Linked DNA regions of Homo sapiens: all the other regions are linked to region 7. Evidence: promoter capture Hi-C in 16 types of primary human blood cells and fetal thymus (Javierre and others, 2016). All regions are on one chromosome and are shown on one strand. The core of a region is centred on a gene start or on the middle of the fragment in contact, and the rest is flanking DNA. Distances in the headings are between cores, read along the strand shown.

The links. The method cuts DNA at HindIII sites, captures the fragments that hold promoters and counts their contacts. A CHiCAGO score of 5 or more calls a contact.
Region 1: a contact is called between a fragment that was not itself captured here and the fragment with the promoter of RHOC in region 7, in 6 of 17 cell types (naive B cells, endothelial precursors, total B cells and 3 more). The highest score is 9.6, in naive B cells.
Region 2: a contact is called between a fragment that was not itself captured here and the fragment with the promoter of RHOC in region 7, in 2 of 17 cell types (naive B cells and endothelial precursors). The highest score is 6.1, in naive B cells.
Region 3: a contact is called between a fragment that was not itself captured here and the fragment with the promoter of RHOC in region 7, in 2 of 17 cell types (endothelial precursors and activated CD4 T cells). The highest score is 5.7, in endothelial precursors.
Region 4: a contact is called between a fragment that was not itself captured here and the fragment with the promoter of RHOC in region 7, in 10 of 17 cell types (megakaryocytes, neutrophils, endothelial precursors and 7 more). The highest score is 13.0, in megakaryocytes.
Region 5: a contact is called between the fragment with the promoter of LRIG2 here and the fragment with the promoter of RHOC in region 7, in 15 of 17 cell types (endothelial precursors, neutrophils, M0 macrophages and 12 more). The highest score is 11.3, in endothelial precursors.
Region 6: a fragment that was not itself captured here is called in contact with the fragment with the promoter of RHOC in region 7 in 1 of 17 cell types (endothelial precursors); the score reaches 6.2 in endothelial precursors.

The regions. Positions count from the first base shown.
Region 1 is chr1:112,382,772-112,386,007 of GRCh38, reverse strand. No RefSeq gene overlaps it. Among named protein-coding and RNA genes, the nearest start is that of CTTNBP2NL, 12 kb to the left of the region's middle. RefSeq lists an enhancer at 1-208. The HindIII fragment of the contact is 1,851 bases long and covers 876-2,726 here.
Region 2 is chr1:112,365,532-112,369,187 of GRCh38, reverse strand. No RefSeq gene overlaps it. Among named protein-coding and RNA genes, the nearest start is that of LINC02884, 6.8 kb to the right of the region's middle. The HindIII fragment of the contact is 1,286 bases long and covers 1,745-3,030 here.
Region 3 is chr1:113,112,198-113,115,617 of GRCh38, reverse strand. It overlaps LRIG2 (leucine rich repeats and immunoglobulin like domains 2), which reads right to left. Exons shown (of 18, transcript NM_014813.3): 14 at 2,858-3,139; 15 at 742-1,191. Among named protein-coding and RNA genes, the nearest start is that of LRIG2, 41 kb to the right of the region's middle. The HindIII fragment of the contact is 4,473 bases long and covers 1-3,420 here.
Region 4 is chr1:113,054,413-113,058,104 of GRCh38, reverse strand. The region is part of intron 1 of LRIG2-DT (LRIG2 divergent transcript); the gene reads left to right. Among named protein-coding and RNA genes, the nearest start is that of LRIG2-DT, 17 kb to the left of the region's middle. The HindIII fragment of the contact is 3,015 bases long and covers 579-3,593 here.
Region 5 is chr1:113,071,103-113,074,767 of GRCh38, reverse strand. It overlaps LRIG2 (leucine rich repeats and immunoglobulin like domains 2), which reads right to left and starts at 1,570. Exons shown (of 18, transcript NM_014813.3): 1 at 1,123-1,570. The coding sequence starts at 1,361. LRIG2-DT (LRIG2 divergent transcript) reads left to right here and starts at 1,666. Exons shown (of 3, transcript NR_103777.1): 1 at 1,666-1,829. RefSeq lists enhancers at 401-450, 1,050-1,109, 726-1,257, 1,290-1,599, 1,258-1,791 and 1 more. The HindIII fragment of the contact is 20,110 bases long and covers 1-3,665 here.
Region 6 is chr1:113,094,264-113,097,670 of GRCh38, reverse strand. It overlaps LRIG2 (leucine rich repeats and immunoglobulin like domains 2), which reads right to left. Exons shown (of 18, transcript NM_014813.3): 5 at 3,189-3,332; 6 at 2,916-3,059; 7 at 1,654-1,797; 8 at 1,306-1,449. Among named protein-coding and RNA genes, the nearest start is that of LRIG2, 23 kb to the right of the region's middle. The HindIII fragment of the contact is 3,284 bases long and covers 359-3,407 here.
Region 7 is chr1:112,705,419-112,708,897 of GRCh38, reverse strand. It overlaps RHOC (ras homolog family member C), which reads left to right and starts at 1,771. Exons shown (of 6, transcript NM_175744.5): 1 at 1,771-1,820. RefSeq lists a silencer at 1,332-2,051 and an enhancer at 3,311-3,360. The HindIII fragment of the contact is 12,151 bases long and covers 1-3,479 here.

The DNA.
Region 1 (3,236 bases), core at 552-3,051, 320 kb after region 7:
CAGATGGCCCACCACTGACATCAATATCACCCACAAGAGAGAGTTTGCCTTTAATGTATATCAGACAACTGTATAAACATTTGACCAGAAATTTACATGATTTATGTAATACAAAGTTCTATTCCAGTCCAGTTTTATAACAATTTTTCTTTTAAAACAGAAAATTTAAAATTTAGTATCAGTTAATACTGTTTGTAGAAAGCCATGGACCATCCCATTTCAAGGAATTCCATTAGACTTCATCAGTCCTGTTTCTTTCTTTCTTTTTTTTTTTCCTTTTCTTTTTTTAGATGGAGTCTCTGTCACCCAGGCTGGAGTGCAGTGGCAGTGGCGTGATCTCAGCTCACTGCAACCTCTGCTTCCTGGGTTCAAGCGATTCTCCTGCCTCAGCCTCCCGAGTAGCTGGGACTACAGATGTGGGCCACCACACCCAGCCAATTTTTGTATTTTTAGTAGAGACGGGGTTTCACCATGTTGGCCAGGCTGGTCTCCATCTCTTTACCTCATGATCTGCCCTCCTTGGCCTCCAAAGTGCTGGGATTACAGGCGTGAGCCACCGTGCCCGGCCACTCCTGTTTCTTCATTAATTTCTAACGCCACTTCTCTCCAGACCCTGCCTCCCATCTTCTCTTCCAGACATAACCCCCTTCTTAAAGCAAATTCATTCAACAAAATATGTTGAGTACCTGTGTTCTAGGCACTAGGGTTACAGTGATGGGCATGATGGTTGTAGTTGTCCACTTTGCATTGCCATAAAGGAATACCTGTGACTGGGTAATTTACACAGAAAAGAGGTTTATTTGACTCACGGTTCTGCAAGCTGTACAAGAGTGGCACAAGCATCTGCTCAGCTTCTGGTGAGGCCTCAGGAAGCTTTTACTAATGGTGGAAGACAAAGGGGGAGCAGGCATGTCACATGGCAAGATAGGGAGCAAGAGAGAAGAGCAGGAGGTCCAGGCTCTTTTTAATGATCAGATCTCATGGTAACTAATAGAATGAAACTTCAGTCATGACCATGGGGAGGGCACCAAGCAATTCATGAGGCATCCATCCTCGTGACTCAAATATCTCCCATTAAGCCCCACCTCCAACATTGGAGATCACATTTCAACCTGAGATTTGGAGGGGACAAACATCCAAACTATATTAATGGCTATGGTTCCTTCTTCAAAATTCCTGTAACTTTGTCATGCAGAGCAAGTTAATTTCTTATTGCCCTAACCTTTCTTATCTCAGCTCTCTTCAGGGGCCCTCACTTTTTATAGCCAGATAAGCCCAAGAAGTCACCTTCTTCAGCAAAGGAATTGATTTGTACTGTCCTTGGAGGTCAGCTGGCTTAAACTGCGGCCGGCTTCTGTGATAATATTCTTATTTATTTTCCTGTTGTATAGGCAAACAGATAATGAGAATATTGTAGGTGAAGTACCATGCTATTAGTAGAAGTATTGACTAGGCATAGCCTTCAGTGGTGTACGAGGAAAGAGACCATTCTTTAAGGAAGAACTGCTTGACTGTTGTATAACATAGTGGAGCGGGCGTCACTTTAGAGCCAGACCTACCAGCTGTGTGATCTGGGCATGTCGCTCAAGTACTTTGAGTTTCAAATCCCTTATCCATAACATGGAGGAAATAATAATGTGTTTCACAGGGTTGTAGTAAAGATTAAATGAGATACCAAGCCATTTATTGATACCTTTTTCTCCCTGCCACCAATCTATCACCAAGTCCTGTCAGTTTCACCTTTTACATTTCTCAAATCCCTCTATGTCTGTTTCTACCACCACCATCACCTTGTTCTGCCCATTTTCTTGTCATGACAATAGCACTGGCAATCTAACTAGTCTTCCAGCATTCCTTCTCACCCCCTCCAGCCTGTTCTCCGTAGAGCAATCTGAGTAGATTTTGAGAAAACACAATCTGATCATGTCATATCACTTCCTTCCCAATTAGAACTTCTCAGTGCTCTTAGGATAACTGGATTTACAAAGCCTTGACTGCTGCTTATCTCTCCAGAATAAGCCAGAGCAGATCTGCCCCCTCACTCTCTGTGCCCCAGCCAACTGGTGACAAAGACTCTCTCCTTGACCAAACTTTAGACAAGCTGCTAAGTGAAATAAGCCAGTCATGGAAAGATAAATACTGCATGATTCCACCTGTGTGAGGCACCTAAAATAGTCAAACTCTCCCAGGCTGTTGGAATGAAATAAAATAAAAGAGTCAAACTCATAGAAGCAAAGAGTGGAATGCCAGGGGCTGAGGGGAGGGGGAGGTGGGGAGTTACTAATCAATGTGCATGCATACAGTTTTAGTCCAGCAAGATGAATAAGCTCTAGAGATCTGCTGTATGATATCATACCTATGGTCAACAGTAATGTTCTGTACACTTAAACATTTATTTAGAGGTTAGATCTCATTTTAAGTGTTCTTACCACACGTACACAAAAGCAGGGTGCTGGATGCCTCTGTTCTGGGACATGACTTCTACTTCCACCTCCTGCACAATTCTCCCTGAGACACTCCCTGCTCCCTGTTCCCACCTTGCAGCTTCTCCTCTTCCCCTTGCAGTCTCACTCCTGCCTGCAAGTGAAACTGCACCCTTAAGATTTGCAAACACCATCTTGTTGATAAACTGTGTGGATATGCCTGGCCCCGAACTTGTGCCCCATGAAGCCTTAGACACTGTTTTTCTTTTCCTTTTCTCTTGGCGGCCCTGAGGACATCAAGCTTTCCTGCTCAGTCTCTCCCATCTCTGCTCGTTCCAACTCTTTGTGGCCTGTTTTTTTCTTTTTTCCTTTCTTTTCTTTTTCTTTTCTTTTTTTTTTTTTTTTTTGAGACAGAGTCTCACTGTTGCCCAGGCTGGAGTGCAATGGCACGATCTCGGCTCACTGCAACCTCTGCCTCCTGGGTTCAAGCAATTCTCCTGCCTCAGCCTCCCAAGTAGCTGGGATTACAGGCATGCACCACCATGCCTGGCTAATTATATATATATATATATTTTTTAGTAGAGATGGGGTTTCTCCATGTTGGTCAGGCTGGTCTCGAACTCCCAACCTCAGGTGATCTACCCACCTCAGCCTCCCAAAGTGCTGGGATTACAGGCGTGAGCCACCCCACCCAGCCCATGGCCAGTATTTTTCTTCGTATTTTCTTGTGAGGAGAGACACTAACACTGGATTATGTGGCCAGTTCTTTTTTTCTTTTCTTTACTTTTTTCTATTTTTTTTTTGCTTTGAGGC
Region 2 (3,656 bases), core at 1,138-3,637, 340 kb after region 7:
AATACCATCTATATAACTACTATATACCAGGCACATTACATATGTTATTCAATTTGGTCATCATAACAGTATAATAGGGTAGATGTATTTATCTATTGTAACTAGAAATTGAACATCAGCATCTGAGAGGTATGAATAGCAGAAGGTTACAAACATAATAAGCAGTGATGGCAGGATTTGAACCCAGGCCTTTTTGGCTTTAATGGCTCATGTCTTTCCCATCATAATGTGTGAACTCATCCTTTTCTAAATCTCTAAGCCCATTTCCAAGGACCTGTCTTAAGCTGGTTGCTTAAGAATCGATCAGGGAACTTGTTAAAATGCATGTTCTTGAACCCCACCCTGGGGGAGCCTCATGAATGATTTAGACTTTTCCTTTTCTTTCTCTCTTTTCATACCACATTCCCTTCCATTACTTAAGTTGTTGAACAGTCACAGTAATCAGGACTTCTGTTTTTTGAACGCCTTATACCTTACACCTTTCACTGAAAACAATGGCTAATGCAAACTCATTTTGTCAAGCCAAAGATCCCTGAGTTTCCCCACCAGAGGATTATACAATCAGCAGCTCCTTTTTGTTTCAATAACACATTTTTATCTCCCTTATTTTGCTGGGGGTGCAGGAGTTATGTTTGGACACAGATAGTTCACTACTAGGGAGAAGCTTCTACTTGGGGAGGACTTAGCCCTGGAAGGGAGATAGAAGCAAAAACCAAGTGGATTCCTGGGGTTTTATTCACCTACATCAATCAACAAGTATTTATTGAGTACCTGGCACTAGGCCAGGTATTGGTGCTAGAGCAATGCATACGATAAAGTCACAAAAGTTATGGAGTTTTAGGTAGGTGGACAGAGAAGGGAGCGGATATTCATGCAGATATTCAAATGAAGTGGCAAAGTGAGCCATGAACTTCTGGGGAGAAGCATACCCGGCAGAGGGACTAGCAAAGTGCAAAGACTCTAAGCAGGAGTCTCCTGGGAGTGTCTGAGGGACACCAAGAAGGCCAGTGTCCAGCAGAAAGGCAAGAGTGGAGAGTGCAAGGAGGAGCAAGGTAGGAGGTGGGAGGGGAGAGGCACCACTGGTTGGATCATGACCTTCCAGGCCATTGGGAGGATTTTGGGTTTTGTTCCAAGTGAGACAAGGAGCCACTGGAGGGTTTTCTGTAGGAAAGTGACATGATCCAATTTACATTTTAAAAGGATGACACTGGGTGCTGGGTTGAACATAGACTTCAGGGGGCAAGGGTGCTACCTGAATACCAAGGCAGCTCTGTCTGTCTGCATCTCTTGAACAGTTTTGGCAGATTCTATTCCTCATCTCTCCACCATGGTCAACAGGTGTTAGTCCATTTTGCATTGCTATAAAGGAATACCCGAGACTAGGTAATTTATAAGGAAAACAGGTTTATGTTGCTCATGATTCTGTAGGCTGTACAAACATGGTGGTGGCATCTGCTCAGCTTCTGGTGAGGCCCCAGGAAGATTTTACTTATGGCAGAAGGCATGTCACATGGTGAGAGAGGGAGCAAGAGAGAGATGCCAGGCTCTTTTAAACAACCAGCTCTCATGTGAACTAATAAAGTGAGAACTCACTTATTACCGTGAGGACAGCATTAAGCCATTGGCGAGGGATCCACCTCCATGACCCAGACATCTCCGCCATGAACCACCTCCAACATTGGGGACCACATTTCAACATAGATTTGGAGGGGACACACATCCAAACCATGTCAGAGGTAAAGCTTTGCCCCTCCGTCAGTCCTTTCTGCTCCTCTTACTCACTCTCAATCATAGCACCATGTTTCTCAAAAGTTGCAAATTGGTTGCAGTAGTGGATTTGATAGTTGTGAGAATGTTGGCCAGAATTAGTTATGTCCGAATACCAGACCAGCCAAGCCAAAATGCCGCTATTATACTAGAATAAAGCAATTTCTACTTTACGGACAAAGTGGCAGAGCCATAACTCATTTACTCACTGACTCATTCACTCATTCTTTCAGCTCTCATTGAGCACGTAGTATGTGCATAAGCCACTGCATTAAGCCTCTGGAGAACTACACATTTTAAAAAAGCTCCCTAAGACATAAACTCTGCCCTTGAGCAAACTCTTAAACTAGTTACTAGCATTTATCAATCACTTTTGATGGGTAAGACTCTGGTTTAAGTGCTTTTTATGTATTGCCATATTTAATACTCAAAATTAATGTGATTAGTTAGGTACTATTTTACTATTTTAAAGATGAAGAAATCTAGGCACCTAGAAGTTAAGTAACCTGTTCAAGTTGGTTATTAGGTGAACTGTGATCTGAACCCAGATGATGTAGCTCTAGGGCGTAGATGACTGCTTCTTAGGCTAGATGGATAGCTAAACACATAATTATAATGCAATGTGATGAGTACTCACTAGAGCTACTGGGAACTTTTAACATTATTGAGGGGCAAGGCCCAAAGCCTTTTCAAATTTCTAATCCAGTTAATTTCGCTGTAGTATATAACTTCTCCCCATAAAATTCTGTGAAGTACAACTAAGATTTTTAAGTGACCCTTCCAGATTCTTAATACAAGATTAAAGTAATTTATAAAGCTATTTTCTGGCTAAGGACCATTCCATTTTTGGACTGTTTCACTCACTCATCATTTCCATCACCAGATGATAGTTTTTTTTTCCGTTGGGGGTGGGGTGGGCAGTCCATTCCTCATAAAAGAAAAATTAAAATTTGTTATGTTAAGCAGATGCCAACAAAGTTGGTTTGGGTTATGAAGTCTTGGGGGTAGGTGGGGGCTCGTCTTACTCACTATCTCATCTACTCCTTCTCTGTAGGGACTTCATAGCTGGCTGGAATCAAATTTGTGCCTCAGTAAAATGACAAATCAGTACAAGTTGGGGGACCTTTATGGTCTTTTGGGAACAGCTGAAACCACAAATCTTACATCCTAGAATATCAAGGGGGATATATTACTGGATTCCCAGTTGCTGGGAAAGCACAGACTGAGCCACAAACTAACTGCCTGGAGAAGACAAGGAAAGCTTCAGGGATTAGTTTAGATTTGAGCTGGGCTTGAAAAATATGTTGATAGTCAACAGCAATAAGGTGAGAGAAAGGTGTTCTAGTAAAGGAAAAGTTTGTATAAAAGATCTGGGGAAGTGTCAGCCAACTGGACTTTCTGGGATCATTCTATCCTGAAACACCGTCTTTTGGGTGGGACAGAATCTGAGCAGCAGTCTCTGTCACATTTTTTCCATTTTGTAGGATATTATAATGACACTTTTTTTTTTTTTTTTTTTTGAGACGGAGTCTTGTTCTGTCGCCCAGGCTGGAGTGCAGTGGCGGGATCTCGGCTCACTGCAAGCTCCGCCTCCCGGGTTCACGCCATTCTCCGGCCTCAGCCTTCCAAGTAGCTGGGACTACAGGCGTCCGCCACCACGCCCAACTAATGTTTTGTATTTTTAGTAGAGACGGGGTTTCACCGTGTTAGCCAGGATGGTCTCGATCTCCTGACCTCGTGATCCACCCTCCTCGGCCTCCCAACGTGCTGGGATTACAGGCGTGAGCCACCACCCCCGGCCCTTTTTCTTTTTTTTTGAGATGGAGTTTCGCTCTTTAGCCTTCCGGGGTTCAAGCGATTCTCCTGCCTCAGCCTCCCGAGTAGCTGGA
Region 3 (3,420 bases), core at 499-2,998, 410 kb before region 7:
AAGTGGAAGTTGCATTGAGCCAAGATCATGCCGCTGCACTCCAGCCTGGCAACAGAGCGAGACTCTATCTCAAAAAAAAAAAAAAAAATTTACAAATTCTTAAAATTGGTCAGACGCAGTGGCTCATGCCTGTAATCCCAGCACTTTGAGAGGCCAAGGTGGACAAATTGCTAGAGCCCAGGAGTTTGAGACCAGCTTGGGCAACATGGCAAAACCCGACTCTACTAAAAATATAAAAACTTAGGCGCGGTGGCACATGCCTATAGTCCCCGCTTCTCAGAAGGCCGAGATGGGAGAATCACCTGAGCCTGGGAAGTCAACGCTGCAGTGAGCCATGAATGTACCGATACACTCTGACCTGGGCATTACAGTAACACCCTATCTCAAATAAACAAAATTCTTTCCTCAAAGAGGTTCTGTTATGAACCTATTCCTCAAAGAGGTTCTGTTATATCAAAGAAGTTGAACATTTTAACAACAAAAACTCCCTTCTATCACATATCAGGTAATGTATCACAGCTCTTCAGTTTTTTGAGGGGGAAGATGAGGTCTTGCTATGTTGCCCAGGTGGGCCTTGAACTCCTGGGCTCAAGCAGTCCTCCCACCTCATCCTCCTGAGTAGCTGGGAGTACAGGCATGTGCTACTATGACCAGCTCTCAGTTTTTTATATTGTACAATTAATCCTATACTACATTCTTGACTGAAGTACAAGCCATAGGTGTCATGTGGGTACTACTTACCTGTGTTTGTGATACTATAGTCTTCATTTTTCCTTCTCATGTGGTAAATAACAATGACCCAGATCAAAGAAGTGCCAACAACACAGCAGACCACAACAATGATGACAATGCCAACTGTGGTCCAGCCATCATCTTCATGCCCAATGCTACTCTGGGAAGAGTCACAATTGGGGGATGAAATGACATTTAGGTAAATGTGGCCACGTTCTGTCCCAAGGGTGTTAGACATAATGCAGGTATATTTCCCAGCATCTTCTAGCCCGGCATCTACAATGATGAGAAGCTGATTGGCTGCAGCAAAGAAATGTCGTTCTGTCACCAGCAAAGGCCCATCATCTTTAGTCCAGTTGAGACGAGGGGCAGGACTCCCTCCAGCTATGCACTGTAACACCGCAGTTTCACCTCGTGTTACTGTCTTATCCTCCAGGGGTCTAATAAATGAGGGTGTCTCTAACAGGAAAACATTAAAAAAAAAAAAAATGAAAAGTTAGGCAATTTTATTCCCTAATTTCTACTGAATTAGACCAATGGGGGTATAATAAAATGAGTAATTTTATATACTCATGGGAGGATTAGAAGTTAATGTTTCAGAACAAAATCCTGAAAAAAGCCTCAATCTTTTCTCGATAATTCCAGCTTAGGCAAGCTATCCTAAGAAAGAAGTTCAGGGCAGCTGCAATAGCTGGAGGGGGTGAGCAGCGGTGACCCATTAAAAAAGATTAAAAATAACTTAAAAAAAAAGAAATTCAAAGATTTATACGCAAAGATGTTTACTACAAAATGTGTAACTTTAAAGAATAAAGAAAAACATTTTTAAATCTAGCAGAAAAATGATTAAGTAAATTATAGTCACATGATCTTTTACAAAGACTTTAATAACAAGGCAACTTGTGGTACAATATTAAATGAAAAAAATGTAGGTATATTTGACTACATAAAAGTGAGAGGGGAAAGTCTAGAATATGCTAAAATCCTTAAGTATTTGAGTGACTTTCCTCCCCTTTTCCTAATTTTCTGTATATCTTAACATGTTAAAACAATAAATGACTTATTTTTCTAAGGCTGAGGCAGGCGGATCATGAGGTCAGGAGTTCGAGACCAGCCTGACCAACATGGTGAAACCCCGTCTCTAAAAAAAATACAAAAATTAGCTGGGCGCAGTGGTACATGCCTGTAGTACCAGCTACTCAGGAGGCTGAGGCAGGAGAATCACTTGAACCCGGGAAGTGGAGGTTGCTCTGAGCCGAGATTGCGCCACTGCATTCCAGCCTGGGCAACAGAATGAGACTCCGTCTCAAAATAAATAAATAAATAAATAAATAAATAAATAAATAAATAAATAAATAAATGACTTCTTATTTTTCTGGTTATACAAGTAAACAATACAAACCAACAAACTTAAAAAAAATAATAATAATAACTGACATATAGGAAAATAGAGAACTGGAAAGTAGAATTTACCCTGGATTTGAGTTCCACGAAGAAAAGTATTGTAATAAGGAAGAAAAAACAAAACAAACAAACAACAACAACAAAAAAAACCCAGGCCAGCAGGGGAAAATTTTTAGGAAAAAAGGCATTTTACCAGAAATAGGGTTAAGAAGAACACACTGAAAAGGAAAGCAGAAACTCTAACCAGAAAACACATCTTTTTTTTTTTTTTTTGTATTAAATTTTTTTTGAAAATGAACTAGGAGCAAACAGTTAAATAGTCTTAGGTTCCTATCAAGCAATAAGTGAAGCAGCATCAAATGGCTGGGATACTCCTAAAAGAACAGTGGAACTCTCAATGCAAACTCAGTGAATAGTAAACACACCTACATGAAACAGAAACCTTACAGAGAGGGACTTAAAAAGATAAGCTGATAAAGGAATTTGAACTTTCAATTATTGTGACAAGGATGCCTACCTAATTTTGCCCTATGTATTTTCCCACATTTCAGTTATCTGACCCACTAATTCCTAGACTGACATAACCTTGCATAAAATTGTGAAATAAGATAAAGATCTAAGAATCACAGAGGTAATCTCAAACTTATTTTTCTTGCTCATTAAGACCAAGAGTAGCTCCCAAAGACTCCAACAAAAGCAGGGACCCATGGAGCAGTAAACGTACCTAACACTGTTAGGGAAGCATTTGCTGAGAGACCTCCTGCTGTATTTTGTGCCATGCAGCTATAGATTCCCATATCTTCTATTTTCACATTGGCAATAAAGAAGACGTCATCCTCGGGCATGACGTGCATGCGTCTTTCTCGAGCCGCAGGAAAGTCAGTACCACCATCTTTCTGCCAGGAAATCTGAGGTGCAGGGTGTCCCTCTGCAGCACATTCTAATCTGGCCATGGCACCAGTGCGAATAGTCAGATCCATTGGCGTTTTCAGAAAAGATGGCATCTCTGTTTCCAGAAAAATCACCAAGAAAAAGTGGGCAAGGGAACAAAGACACATATATGCATACAAATAGGCATGAAAGAATCTAGTAGGCAAGACACCCCCTAATGTTCCATTTCTTTGTGAAGACAGGCTCTCTGATTGAGAGTGAATATAGTTTTATAAATTTAAAAAAACAAAAACAAACTTTAGAGATAGGGTCTTGCTCTGCTGTCCAGGCGGGAGTACACTGGCGCAATCATAGCTCACTGCAGCTTCAAATTCCAGGCCTCAAGCTATCCTCCCA
Region 4 (3,692 bases), core at 837-3,336, 350 kb before region 7:
TGCAAGCTCCGCCTCCCAGGTTCACGCCATTCTCCTGCCTCAGCCTCTCCCAGTAGCTGGGACTACAGGTGCCTGCCACCATGCCCAGCTAATTTTTTTGTATTTTTAGTAGAGACAGGGTTTCACTGTGTTGTCGATCTCCTGACCTGCCCACCTCGGCCTCCCAAAGTGCTAGGATTATAAGTGTGAGCCACTGCGCCCGGCCCAGAGCCCGAACTCTTAACCACTGCTATTGTGGGGAGTGATAGGAAATGAGGCTTACTGCATAAATAAATATAGCACTTGCATTCCTCTATGTCCAACCCTATGAGGCAGGTATATTTATTTTCCCTATTTTACAGATGAGGAAACTTAGTCTAAGAGAGGTGAAGTCATTTGCCTAAAGCCACATGATTAGAAAGTGTCAGAGCAGAGATACGATACCCATCTACCTGCACTTCATCCACTACAGCTGCACTTCTTACCTTGATTGTCTTATAAGGAATTTTCCCTTTACTCTGAGCTCCTGCAGGCATCCTGCATGAGAGAAGGCTAGCTGCAGGAATGGTGAGACGTTTTATTTTTCCATGGAGGAAGCTTTAGTTTGACGTAGGGGGATAGGATTGCCATGGGATCTAGCCTGTGGAACGTAACCCCTAACCAAGTGTTGGGGGCAAGTTGCTAGGACGTGGAGCTGGAAGTTTGTTACATGCAATTGTGAGGATTCCTTCCGAGCAACCCAAATCCAGTTCACTGCCTGATCTAGGCAGAGGCATGAGGGAGTTGTTAATAGCATGACATTTTCCTCAACATTTTAAGGTTTAAATTTTTTTTCCTGTCAATAAGGCTAACAGGGTAATCTGCACTGGCAGCTGCATCCTTCCTGTTTGTCCTCCTGAAGCAGTTCCAGCTGACCAGCCACTGGGAACCTGCTGCTTAAGCAGCTGGTAATGAACTGCAAAACAGAACAAGAAGAACCAGGCAGGCAGGGGTCAGCACCCTCCCGGGACAGTAAACTGGCCTTGCAGAGAGGAGCCAAGGAAGAATAACACAGGAGTACAGCTGATGTATGCATATCTAGCTATTCTCTGCTCTGGGCTTATTTCACTTTTGCAAAAAATAGTAAATGCTTGTAAACAAGCTATACAGAAGAATATTAAATAAAAAGTGAAACTTCCCCTCCCAGACACCCCACCCACGAGGTATAGCCATGGTTAATTTAATCATTTGTTTATCTTTTTGTACCTTCTCTGTGTAAATCTTGGTATAAATGTGAGCTTAATTTTTTGTTTTTTATTATCTAATACAAAGTGGGATTTATATGTTGATGTTCAGTTTGATAACTAGCTCTTTAAATTTCTTTTTTTTTTTTGAAGATAGGGTCTCACTCTGTCACCTAGGCTGGAGTGCAGTGGCATGATCATAGTTCATTGCAGCCTCGACCTCCAGAGCTCAAGCGATTCTCTCACCTCAGCTTCCCAAGTAGCTGGGGCTACAGGCCTGAGACTGCAGGCACATCCCACTACACCTGGATAATTTTTTTTTTGTTTTTAATTTTTAGTAAAGTCTTGCTATTTTTTTAATAGAGTTTTGTTGGTCTTGCTGTGTTGCCCAGGTGGTCTTGAACTTCTGGCTTTAAGTGATCCTCCCATCTCAGCCTCCCAAAGTGCTAGAATTACAGGCATAAGCCACATCACCCAGCCCCGCTTCAAAATTTTTAGCAATTTACACTTCCAACAATAGTGTATAAACCTAGCCAACAGTGACTCGTTTTTTAGTTAAAAACAAATCAAAACATGCTAGTATGTCAATTGAACAAATATTTCTCTCACTCCCTTTCCTTCTGTCCTTTCCTCTGTTTTCTATTACATTTCCAACCTCTGACCCGTGCTTATTACACAGAATTCCAGAAATTTGTCAGTAGGTGAGAAACAGGGGAGGGAGAGTTTATGGCTAATCAACAAAGATACACAAAGGTGCAATATTACTCTGTAAAAGGTGATAGCAGCTTTTACATATATATTTACAAGACTTCATAGGTACAGCTCATTAGCTGGCAAATAAAAATGTACAAGCAAGACACCTTGCTAGGTGTGGGATCTCATTTGATCCTTAGATAATAGTGCAATTAGGAAAAGCACGCATTATCTCCCCATTTTACATATGATTAAAAAGAAATTCAACAAATGTGCCTGTAAGGTCACAGTGCTAGTCAAATATGGAACTCTGAGTCAATATTCTCTTCCCTACATTATATTCACCATTTTTATATGTGTGTAAAATATAAGTGTGTATATAAACTCTAAAGTGCACAATATGTAATCCGTAAGCACATTTGTCACACCCTTTTTTATACCTGTGGCTATATACTAAATGTAATCTGGGTGTGTGCAATACAGTATATATAAAACATGGAAGATGGTGCAGGAGGCACTAAGAGGTAGTTAAAAAAAAAAAAACCCACCTAAATGTGACCTGGCAGGCCCTGACAAATACACAGGTGGGTCAGGGACTAAAGAGCTCTGGGAAATTGTTGAATTCTAAATGAGATCTCTTCTAGTCATGGTTCTGGAACAAACAATTTATAACAGGGGTTAAGTGCATGGAGTTTTGAAGTCAGGTACATATGGGTTCAAGTTCTGTCTTAGCCACATACTAGATACGTGATCTTGGACAACTAAGTTAAGTTGGACAACTAAGTTAAGAAATAGGCTGGGCGCAATGGCTCAGGCCTGTAATCCCAGCACTTTGGGAGGCCGAGGCAGTCGGATCACGAGGTCAGGAGTTCGAGACCAGCCTGGTTAACATGGTGAAACCCCGTCTCTACTAAAAGTACGAAAATTAGCTGGGCGTGGTGGTGCACACCTGTAATCCCAGCTACTCAGGAGGCTGAGGCAGGAGAATCACTTGAACAGAGGAGTCGGAGGTTGCCATGGCTGAGATTGCACCACTGCACTCCAGCCTGGGTGACAAAGTGAGACTCCGTCTCAAAAAAAATAATAATAATGATAATATTCTGTGTTTCACAAGATGAAATGAGACAATGTATGTAAAACATCTTGCAATGTGCTTGAAACATAATTCTCAATAAGAGTTATTATTATTTGTATTACATGTTTGACTTTATCATTCTTGTTTAGTTTCAACATAGTTCAGCTGTATGTAAAACTAAGCATATGACTGCAGAAGTGGCAATCATGAAAGATTAATGCAATGGTTCTCAGCTCTGTCTGCTCATTAGAATCACCTGGCGAGCTCAAAACAAAATGCTTATATCTAGGCCAGTGAAGTCAGAATCTCTGAAGGCATTGAGAATCAATGGATTAAACAGAGGCTTTGAGTGTGAAGTTTTCAGGGGTACTAAAGATCAGTAAGATTATGTGAAAATCAAGGCTTTTAGTGAGTCCTCTGAATTTTCATTATGACTGTAGAGGATGGTTGTTGGTTGATCCCTTTCCACTTTCCCAGGAGTCCTGTTTTACATTTGGACATTTTGAGTCCTGGAAAAGTTGATTCTTTCCCTGATTTCAGGGGTCAAGGAAGAAATCCCTAAAGGCAAAGGTAATATTGCATTTTATCCACCGCTATTGTGATTGGTGCATATGGCCAAAGCTTTGTAATCAGGGTGATTCTCAGGACTGTTGGAAACACTGGGACAAAAATGCTGTCTTTCTTGCTGAGCATAAAGAGAAGGCAGGTAGGTAGCCCATCTT
Region 5 (3,665 bases), core at 321-2,820, 370 kb before region 7:
CCAGCTAATTTTTTTGTATTTTTAGTAGAGACGGGGTTTCACCATGTTGGCCAGGATGGTCTCGATCTCTTGACCTCGTGATCGGCCCGCCTCGGCCTCCCAAAGTGCTGGGATTACAGGCGTGAGCCACCGCGCCTGGCCCATTGATGACTCTTTCTTAACGACTCCATCAGAAATCTGTCAGTTAATAAACGTGCTGCTCAGTTAGTGACGAGAAATAACTGTATGTTAGTGGTTAAGAAGCCCCATAATTGCAGCATTTAATACCTGCTGTTGTTCCTAATACCACCAGGCTGACTCAGACTAAGGAGCCCTCCAAGTTCCACTGTCTAATAAAGACCTGTCAAAGTGAAAACTCAACAGTGGAAACTCCAGAATTCATTCAACCGTTGTACCTGCTTTACCTACATAAATAAGCAGAACTGATTTTTGGGTTCTTTGCCACAAGAAGATGCGCTGAAAACAAAGCATCAAATGGTTCTGCAAAAAATACTCCTCCTCTTTACAGTGAAGTTTAAATTAGATCAAGAATGCTACTTACAAAGATATTCTGAATTACAGGATCTCCTGATTCATCATAATGAACTTTTCAACCCTGTTAAGTATCAAAACTGCAGCACAAAATCAGCCAACATGCGAACTAAGGACTAAAGACAGTTCATAGGTCTTTGGCGATTGTGATTATAAAATCACGTGCCTGAGGACCACTAAGTCTGAGGTACACACCAAATCATGCAGCTCAAGATAAGCAGAAAGCACTGTTCCGTGCTCAACCCACCCCCCGCCCCACCAACCATCCAAAGTCAATGCTGGTGCCCAGGACCCGTGAGTCCTTACCATTAAATATGCCCGCCCCATTTCCTCCCCAGTTGAGGAAATCACAGACTCCTTGGCCCCAAGAATCTTAACCCTCGTCTTCATACAATTCTCCAGAAACCTTAACACCGGCTTTTTTAGGCTCCCACCACCTAAAACAAAGTTCATAAAATCCTGACGGCAGTTTCCTTCAGAGCTTAGGCTCTCGACCACACCCTCCGACCAGGCCTGTCTCCCTCCTGCCTGCCCCCTGTAGAGGGAAGGCTCCCCCTCCTTTTGGTCACTCTGCCTGGCCGCTCTACTCACAGGATAGCGGTGTCGGGGGGCAGCAAGCCCGACAGCGCCCTCCAGCTCGGTGCGGGCAATTTCCTGCGACTGCAGTCCAGGAGAGGAATGCGGCAGGAGCAGGGCGCGGGGCAGAGACCTGCTCCGGCGGCGGGCAACAGGAGGAGAGCGGTCTGGGCAATGAAGAGTAACCGAGAAAGCACTCTAGATCGACACCCCAGCAACTGCTCCTCCGGGACGCCTAGGGGCGCCGGCGCCATTTTCCCCCTCGACCTGGACGTGGCCTAGAAGAGCTGCCTGCTAGAAAAGGAGGATCGGCGGAGAAGCTCAGCAGAGATGCTCGGTGGCTGCACTGTCTCCCGAAGCCCCGGCTGAAGGCTGTACCATCTAAAGGCATGCAAGGAGCAGACGCAGCGCGACAGCGGGGTCGACGGCCTGGGACACACGGCCTGACGGACACCTCTCGTCCGCCCCTCCCCACGGCGCAACGTCCTCACGCACAGGGGCCAGCCAATCGGTGCCATAAGATGAGGTTGCGCCCGGGGCGGAACTCAGTGAGGGGCGGGGCCAGACGCAGCCGAGTATCTTGAGGAGAAGGACTTTAAAGCGTTCAGGGATTTTAGCTGCCGCTGTGGAGTTCCGCCGCTGTTCTTCCGCTGGAGGGCGCAGTAGTTCCTTAAGAGGGAATGGTGCGGCGAATAGCTGTGAGTTCAAAGTCCTGACTACAGGTATATCTACTGTAGTAGAAAAGGATCTTTTATTTGCTCTGGGCTTTAAGAAAGGGGAGTGGCAGAAGGGCTGCCTTCCAAGTCGCACACACGAATGGGTCACGGGAGCTTCTATCCTGGCTTTGGCCAGATCGGCCTCCAGAGCCGAGCTCGAGCCTCTTCTGCCCCCTGCTGCTTGGCTGTAGCCCCTGCTCTTCTGCAAGTAGGCGGCAACTGCCATTTGCATAAGATCAATATCACTCTCTGTTAATGGCCTTGTAAGCTCCTGAAGGCAGAGGCCCTGTTTCTTCATCGGTGCACCTCCACCTTTTGTTCTAGCTTGGAGTTCAATAAATTTTGGTGGGACTGCACCTGCATGTCTATATAAAGGAAATACCCTTCTCTTTGGAGGGATGCTGTCAAGGTCACTCTCAGAAAAGCAAGCGAGACAAGAGGGTGTTGAGCAGTCAACAAAGCAAAGACTGGATGTGAGGAAATTTATTTCTCCTAAAGCAGAGGCTATGGAAAACTTACTAGGAACAGTGAAGTCTGGCCATCTTATGCTCATTCAGCCATCCAAGGTTGTAAATAAGACTTTGAGAATAATAGTGATGGTTCACTTATACGTAGTGAACTTTTCAAAGGGCGTTTGCATCTGTTATCTTGTTTGCTCCTTCAGTGACTGTGACATTGGCAAGACAATTATTGCTGATGATGCAACAAGCCCCAAGAGGTTAAACCAAGTTACTCTTGAGGCAGGGGCAGGTTCGACATTAACATGGGTTTTCTGACATAAATTGAAAATCTGAGCAGGTTAAAAAGAATGATAATGCCTAGGTTAGGGTTCTCATAGAAAGTAACTGAAAGCAATCTTTCCCATGGCAGATTATGGAGTCATAATTATGTTTTTAAAAACCTTTTTCTGTTTTTTTTTTTTAATATTGAAGTATATATTGGAAACAAGGCCATATCCAATGCTACAGTCCAAACCAAACTTTTAAAGCCAAGACAGCGGAATGAAACTTACTCTTAGCCTTCTTCCCTTAGCTGTTGAGCAGACTTAACAAACTCTGGTAAGAAATCCGGCATAGGCAGGAACCTTACAAAAAAAAAAAGGAGGCAGTTTAGTTCCTTTCTACATTATAGTTTCAGAGCTTTCCTATGAAACTATACCAAATGGGGCCATTAGAAATTAATGCTCTCTAACCTGTATCCTCCGCAGTAAGTGGCTCACTGCAATCTCTGCCTGCCGTATTCAAGCGATTCTCCTGCCTCAGCCTGCCTAGTAGCTGGGACTACAGGTGTGCACCACCATGCCCGGCTAATTTTTGTATTTTTAGTAGAGACGGGGTTTTGCCTTTTTGGCCAGGCTGGTCTCGAACTCCTGACCTCAGGTGATCCACCCACCTCGGGCTCTCAAAGTGCTGGGATTACAGGCATGAGCCACTGTGACTGGCCACAAATACACGTTTTTTTTGTTTTTTTTGTTTTTTTTGTTTTTTTTTTGAGACAAAATTTCATTATTGTTGCCCAGGCTGGAGTGCAATGGCACAATCTCGGCTCACCGCAACCTCCGCCTCCTGGATTCAAGCGATTCTCCTGCCTCAGCCTCCTGAGTAGCTGGGATTACAGTCATGCGCCACCACGCCCAGCTAATTTTGTAGTTTTAGTAGAGATGGGGTTTCTCCATGTTGGTCAGGCTGGTCTCGAACTCCCAACCTTAGGTGATCCGCCCGCCTCGGCCTCCCAGAGTGCTGGGATTTCAAGCATGAGCCACCACACCCAGCCGCAAATATGTGTTTTTTTTTTTTTTTTTTAATTTATTTTTTTATTGATAATTCTTGGGTGTTTCTCACA
Region 6 (3,407 bases), core at 751-3,250, 390 kb before region 7:
TTCCCAAAACTTTAATTCTAAAAGTAATAATCAGTGGTATACTAAAATAACCTATTTGCCATCCCTTCAACTGCCAAAAGGCTGCAGCTACATCTAAGTTTCTGAGATTGCATTGATCCAGTTTCACTTCTGATAATATAGGAAAAGGAAAAATACAATCACTTTTAATTTTTCAAGGCCAAATCTAAAGGAATTTTTTAAAAAATCAAATACACACCTGTGCATGTATATACCCTTCACAAAATTATCTTGTTTTCCCTCTCATTGATGGTTATGTCTCCAAGTTGGGAACCTGCCTCTTCTCTGAACCATTTCAACTCGAAACCTAATGACCACAAAGTCCTCTATTCAGGAAGCTTAAGAATCTACAAATTCTACTAATTACTCTTTGTTTTCTTTTATTCTGCTCTGTGTTTGAGATTACTATATTTCATTAAAATACCTCTTCATTTAATAAAATTATATTCTAAAATTAGATATATTTATATATAAATATATAAAGTTCACAAAAACACATTCTTATATTCTGTAAATTGAATAACTTACAGAACCACAGAATTTTAGCGTGGAAACTGCCTTTAGCAACCATCTAATCCTATATCCTTCCTTCACCGTATAAAGGAGAAAAAAAAATGATGGCCAGGAAAAGCTAAGTGATTTTGTTCTTCTGTTGGTATGATAAAATGGACATGAGCTTTAGCATCAAACAGACCTGGGATCTGATTCTGGCCCAACATTTACAAGCTATGTGACTTAGAGAAAATTATTTAAATTTCTCTGAACCTCAGCCTCCTAATATGGAAAACAGCAGTATCATCCTAGTATTTGAAAGTACCTGGCACATATCAGATAATAAGTATTAGTTTCTTCTGTCCAAAGTCATGTAGCAAACCAGTAACAGTGAACTGGTCTCCTACCACGGCAGTTCCCACTACACAACCTGCATCCTTTCGAATGAGAACTAGTAGCTCTGGTGTATTGTCAAAGTCAAAGGAACAAGAAAATGACTGCTCTCCTGACACTAGCAACTGTGTTTTATTCCACAGCAACTAACACAATAAGACATGCTTTGATGCTTATGGGATTAACTCAGAATTAAACTACAAACTGAATTGCCTACGACAGGCTTGGGATTTTTATGGGGATGGAGACAAATAAGACTGCCTTGCTCTGAGGCATAGGACAGAAGAACCACAAAATGTTAGCATACAGAATTTGCAGACTGATTAGTTGTTTTAATTAATTTGCTTTATTGTACTAAAAAAATCAGTAACAACAACCAAAAAGGAGAATGGATATACTTACAATGTCTGAAGATTGGAAAGAAATCTAAATACACCATCAGCAATATGAGTGACTCTGTTGTCTCCTAAATTCAATCTCTCCAATAAGCTCAGACCCACAAAGGCAGATTCATCCAGGCGGGTCAGCTGGTTATAGGACAAATCACTGAAAACAAGAAATGTGGAAGGTAAGGAATTCATTGTATTTGGTTCAACTTACAATTCTTATTATATCTACATGGTAAATTTAGAGCTTTCTACAAATTTCTAGTAAAGAGGGATGTTACATCTCATTACTGCCCATGGGAATGATTTATTCCAATCTGCTCTAGTCTTAACTGCCTCCAGTGAAATGCTATCCAACACTTACAGTTCGGATAGTCTTTGGCAGAACTCCCATGCATCAGGGCTGATTCTTTCAATAGCATTCTGGCTCACATAGAGCTGCTGTAACATTCGCAAGCCATACAACCACCCCTTGTTTACTCGTGTAAGGTTGTTGTGTTCCAGTTCTCTGCAGAATTAGAGAAAGAGAAGAAAATACGTTCCAAAACAAGGCAGTTCAATAACTAGCTTTAAATCTTAAGTTTTTCCCAGAGAAGCATATACCTTTGTTCAACCCAACTGAGCTGACCAATTCTATTCAATAAAAATGAATATCTTATTTAAGATTTAGTGCTTGGCCGGGCACAGTGGCTCATGCCTGTAATCCCAGCACTTTGGGAGGCCGAGGTGGGCGGATCACAAGGTCAAAAGATCAAGACCACCCTGACCAACATGGTAAAACCCCATCTCTACTAAAAATACAAAAATTAACTGGGCACGGTGGCGCGCGCCTGTAGTCCCAGCTACTCGGGAGGCTGAGGCAGGAGAATCGCTTGAACCCATGAGGCAGAGGTTGCAGTGAGCCGAGACTGTGCCACTGCACTCCAGCCTGGCAACAGAGCAAGACTCTATCTCAACAACGACAACAAAAAAAGAGATTTAGTGCTAGAAGGTAGTAAGACTGTCTAAAATAGGAGCTCTACAAAACCAACAGGCCAAGTGGTATAGTATACCTGTTTGGATAAATTCTGGTAATTTTCATTAGCCAAAACATTAAGAATATAAACTTTTTGGCCGGGCACGGTGGCTCATGCCTGTAATCACAGCACTTTGGGAGGCCAAGGTGGGTGGATCATGAGGTCAGGAGTTCGAGATCAGCCTGACCAACATGGTGAAACCCCATCTCTACTAAAAATACAAAAATCAGCCGGGCCTGGTGGCACACGCCTGTAATCCCAGCTACTCAGAAGGCTGAGACAGGAGAGTCACTTGAACCTGGAGGCAGAGGTTGCAGGAGCTGAGATCACGCCATTGCACTCCAGCCTGGGCAACAGAGTGAGACTCCATCTCAAAAAAAATATATATATATATATAAACTTTTTAGATGAGAAGTTTGTAAGAATTATTTCAAAATTGATCAGTTAGCTAACAAAACTTTAAAGGTTTTATGTACGCTTACTTCACATCAGTGACCAGGGAATGAATGAATGTATCTCTATAATCAGAACAACTACCCTAGCCATTCGACACTGAAAAGTCCCAAACAGACTACTTTCCTAATAATCACCTCTAGTCCCGAGTACTTACAGTTCTTCCATGTTATTCAAGCCAAAAAATGCTCCATCCTTAAGTTTGCTAATTCCATTCCGCTGCATTTTCAAAGATCTTAAGGAGTCAAGCCCTTGGAATGTAAGACCTTCCACAATTTTAATTCTGTTTCTTTTAAGTTCCCTTTAACAAAAATAGTTTTACAGTCAGGAAATTGGTTTGCTAAAATGTTCTAACAGTAATTAAATTAAAAAGAAAAAGACCCTGTAAGAAAAAACTATCTTCTTATAATCCGTCTATTTCGTTACTCACAAGAATTGGAGGTGAGGCAGCTTGAAGATCTTAGGTGGAATCATGCTCATTCGGTTACGGTTTAACTTTACCACTAATAAGGAACTTGATAAATTATCGAAGCAACCAGCCTCCAAGGTGGTTATTCTGTTATTACTTAAATTCCTAAAATAAACAAGATAATAGCAAAAGAAAAAATTTAGTAAAATAAAAATTCTACCACTAGAAAGCTGCCAAAAA
Region 7 (3,479 bases), core at 522-3,021:
GGTGTGATGGTACACGCCTGTAGTCTCAGCTGCTGGGGAAGCTGAAGTGGGAAAATCATTGGAGCCTGGAAAGTTGAGGCTGCAGTGAGCTGAGATCTTGCCACTGCACACTTAGGCAACAGAGACCTTGTCTCAAAAAAAAATTAAAATTAAAAAAATCTACACATCACCTTATCTTGAGAACTTCACCTGTTGTTCAGGACTGGGTATCGCACAGCCCACACATGCCCACACTACAGCAATGACCTCCGGTATTGTAACTGTCTACATTAGGAGTCAGTAGGGAGTAGGAATTAAGAACAGGGGCTCTAGAGTTCAGCTGTTTGGGTTCTAGTGTCAGACCCAGCACTAGCTCTGTAACCTCTCTGAACCTCAATTTGCTTCTCAGTAAAATGGAGATAGCTACCTCATGGGATTCTTGTAGTTAATGTATGTGGACCCAGGTCCATGTAATATGGATTCAATAAATGTTAGCTATCTTGAAATTGCATTCCTCATTTAGACTCTAAGTTGTTTGAAGGCAGAAATGGATCTTCCGAACATAGCTCTCAGTTCACCCTCGAGAAATGTTCATTGAGTCAGTTAAGAGGCCTGGGGCCAAACTGCTGCGGACCTGTTTTCACATTTGTCAAATGTCTGGATTGCACTTCAGATATTTAAAGTCTGTATGACTCCTAACATTCATTCATTCATCAAATATTTGTTGACAACCTATTATGTGCCACTCACTCTGCTAGACAACGGGGGAAGGGACAGGCTGGAGGAGCCCGTGAGGTAGCAGGGCCAGACCACCAGTTTGGAGCCAGACAGGCCCGGCTGTGTGAATTCTTGCTGTCACAAGTCAAAAACAGTTGTGTAAGCCACTTGATTTCTCTGAACCTCAGCTTCTCTATGGGCAAAAGGGGATGGGTATATTTTCCCCAGAGATCTGTGATGAATATTGAAAGGGTTAAGCTGTGTAGTGTCCCAAGCACAAGCCAATGAAATGTTGGTGGACGTCCTCATTCTACTCCCACCTCCTCAGCTCCCTTACAGGGAAAGGAGATACGCGTGTAGGTAAATATCCTATGCGCCAAGTCAGACCTAGGAGTGGGAACAGAATTCACAGCTGGGATCCAGAAGCATTTCTAGGCGCACCCTTTGAGGAGTAGGTAGGAATTGGACTCCTGGAAATTCCAGGCCCAGGGAAGAAAGCGAATTGTGAGGAGGAACGGTGGTCTGGGTCTGAACGGCTCTGAGAGGTCTTCAAGTTTGGGGGATGACGTTGGGCTGTACGATCCTAGGAACAAGAGGGTGGACATCTCCCCCCAACCAACACACCCGCGCCGGGCCCTGGGACCTCCCGGCGGATACCCTTTCCCAGTCCCGCTTCCCGCGAGGTCCCAGGTGCAGCAGGAGCGGGTGGCCGCTTGGCCACAGGAGGGCAGCAGCGGCCCTTCCTGACCCCACCCCGAGCACCTCTTAACTTTCCCGACGCCGGTCCTCCCCTAGGGGATTGAAGGCTGGGCAGAGTCTGAGTCCACCCGGGTCGTGCTCCCCCCGCTCGCCCGGCTCCTCCGCAGTCCAGGAATCTCCCCGTGGCTCTCCCCGACCTGGAGGGGTGGACGCCCCTGGCCCCCAGTCCCCGGCCTGCGGAGGGGGCCGGTGGCTGCGGCCCTGCGCGGGGCCGGGGCGGGCCGAGCCAAGGGCCGCCCCCGGCCGACCCTCCCCCTGCCGGGCCCGCCCTCCCCGCCGCGGCGCTGGAGGAGGGCGGGGCGGGGCCCTGGGGTCAGTCTGAGCCTCCGGCACCGGCCGCGCAGCTGGAGGCGGCGGAGCGGAAGGTACCCTGGGCCGGGGCTGCGGGCGGTGGGGCGTCTTGGGAACTCGTCCCCAGGAGAGCACTTTCCCTTCCTCGCTGGCCCGGAGATCGGGGCCCGTGCGAGGAGGGGCTTCGGCCTGGGCGTGGACCCCGTTCCCTCCAAGCGGAGTCGGCATCCGGGCTGGGCGGTGGTCGGACCGCGTCGGCCCCTCCCCGGGCTGCAGCGAGGGGGCCCGGACCTGCCGGCAGGGGCTCTGGCCTCCTGAGGTCCGAGTCGGAGCCCCTTCCCTTCTCCTCCCAGCTTCCCGGAACCTGCCCCGCCGGGCGAGGGGCGAGGGAACTTCAACTCAGACGCCCCAGCCCCCAGGGTGGGCGGCCGCAGGGGACCTAGAGTGGGATGGGGTGGGAATTCCTCCAGGCCAGGAGGGAGGTATGGCGGGAATAGGGGCGGGATGTGACCATTGGGGCCTGCCACTGCTCGGCAGGGTCTGGACGCCGCCCTGGACGGTTCCTGGAGCCCGCTTGTGTTGAGGATAAGGGAGATGGGGAAGGATCCAACTCTGTGTGTGTGTGTGTGTGTGTGTGTGTGTGTGTGTGTGTGTGTGTGTGTGTGTGTGTGTGTGTGTGTGTGTGTGGTGTGTGTGTGTGTGTGTGTGTGTGTGTGTGTGTAGAGAGAGAGAGAGAGAGAGAAAATGAGATTGAGAATCCTCCTTCTTCATACTCGAACCAAGAAAGAGTATCCTGGGGTTTGGGACTGGGATCCCGAGGCCGAGTCCCGCCCTCACTCTGGTTTTAAAGTTGAGAATGCAGTATCTCTTGGTATCTCCAGAACGGATTCCTTCCCTAGGTGTAGGGTGGGCCGGCAAAGTCAACCGGCCGCTCTGGATCATCTGGGAATTCAAGAGAGCGATTGGAGAGAGGTCTGATGTAGCCACACTGTCTTGTCTTGGGGAAGGCCCCAGAAGTTCCAGGCTCCATTCCAGGCCCTGTGTGGGGCTCAGTTGCCCCTCTTAAGGGGTCAGTGGGACAGTCCCTCTGGGGCTGCCTCTCACAGGGAGTTGTCCATGCCATCTTGGCCTTGGGCCTAGTGTCCTGGCCTGGGCTGCCTGCTGTTCTGGCCCAATCATAGCCTGGAGGGAAAGTCTTCTAATTGGGCTGGAGGCTCCAGGTCCCTTAACGCATGCCTCAACCCCGGGTTTCTGTCCTCTGCCTCCCACCACTCTGGTGCCGTCTGAATTACCCTGCTGGGGGGACAGCAGTGGCATACTCATGCCTAAGTGACTGGCTTTCACCCCAGTAGTGATTGCCCTCCATCAACACTGCCCACCCCAGGTTGGGGCTACCCCAGCCCATCTTTACAAAACAGGGCAAGGTGAACTAATGGAGTGGGTGGAGGAGTTGGAAGAAATCCCAGCGTCAGTCACCGGGATAGAATTCCCAAGGAACCCTCTTTTTGGAGGATGGTTTCCATTTCTGGAGGCGATCTGCCGACAGGGTGAATGCCTTCTTGCTTGTCTTCTGGGGAATCAGAGAGAGTCCGTTTTGTGGTGGGAAGAGTGTGGCTGTGTACTTTGAACTCCTGTAAATTCTCTGACTCATGTCCACAAAACCAACAGTTTTGTGAATGTGTCTGGAGGCAAGGGAAGGGCCACTCAGGATCTATGTTGAAGGGAAGAGGCCT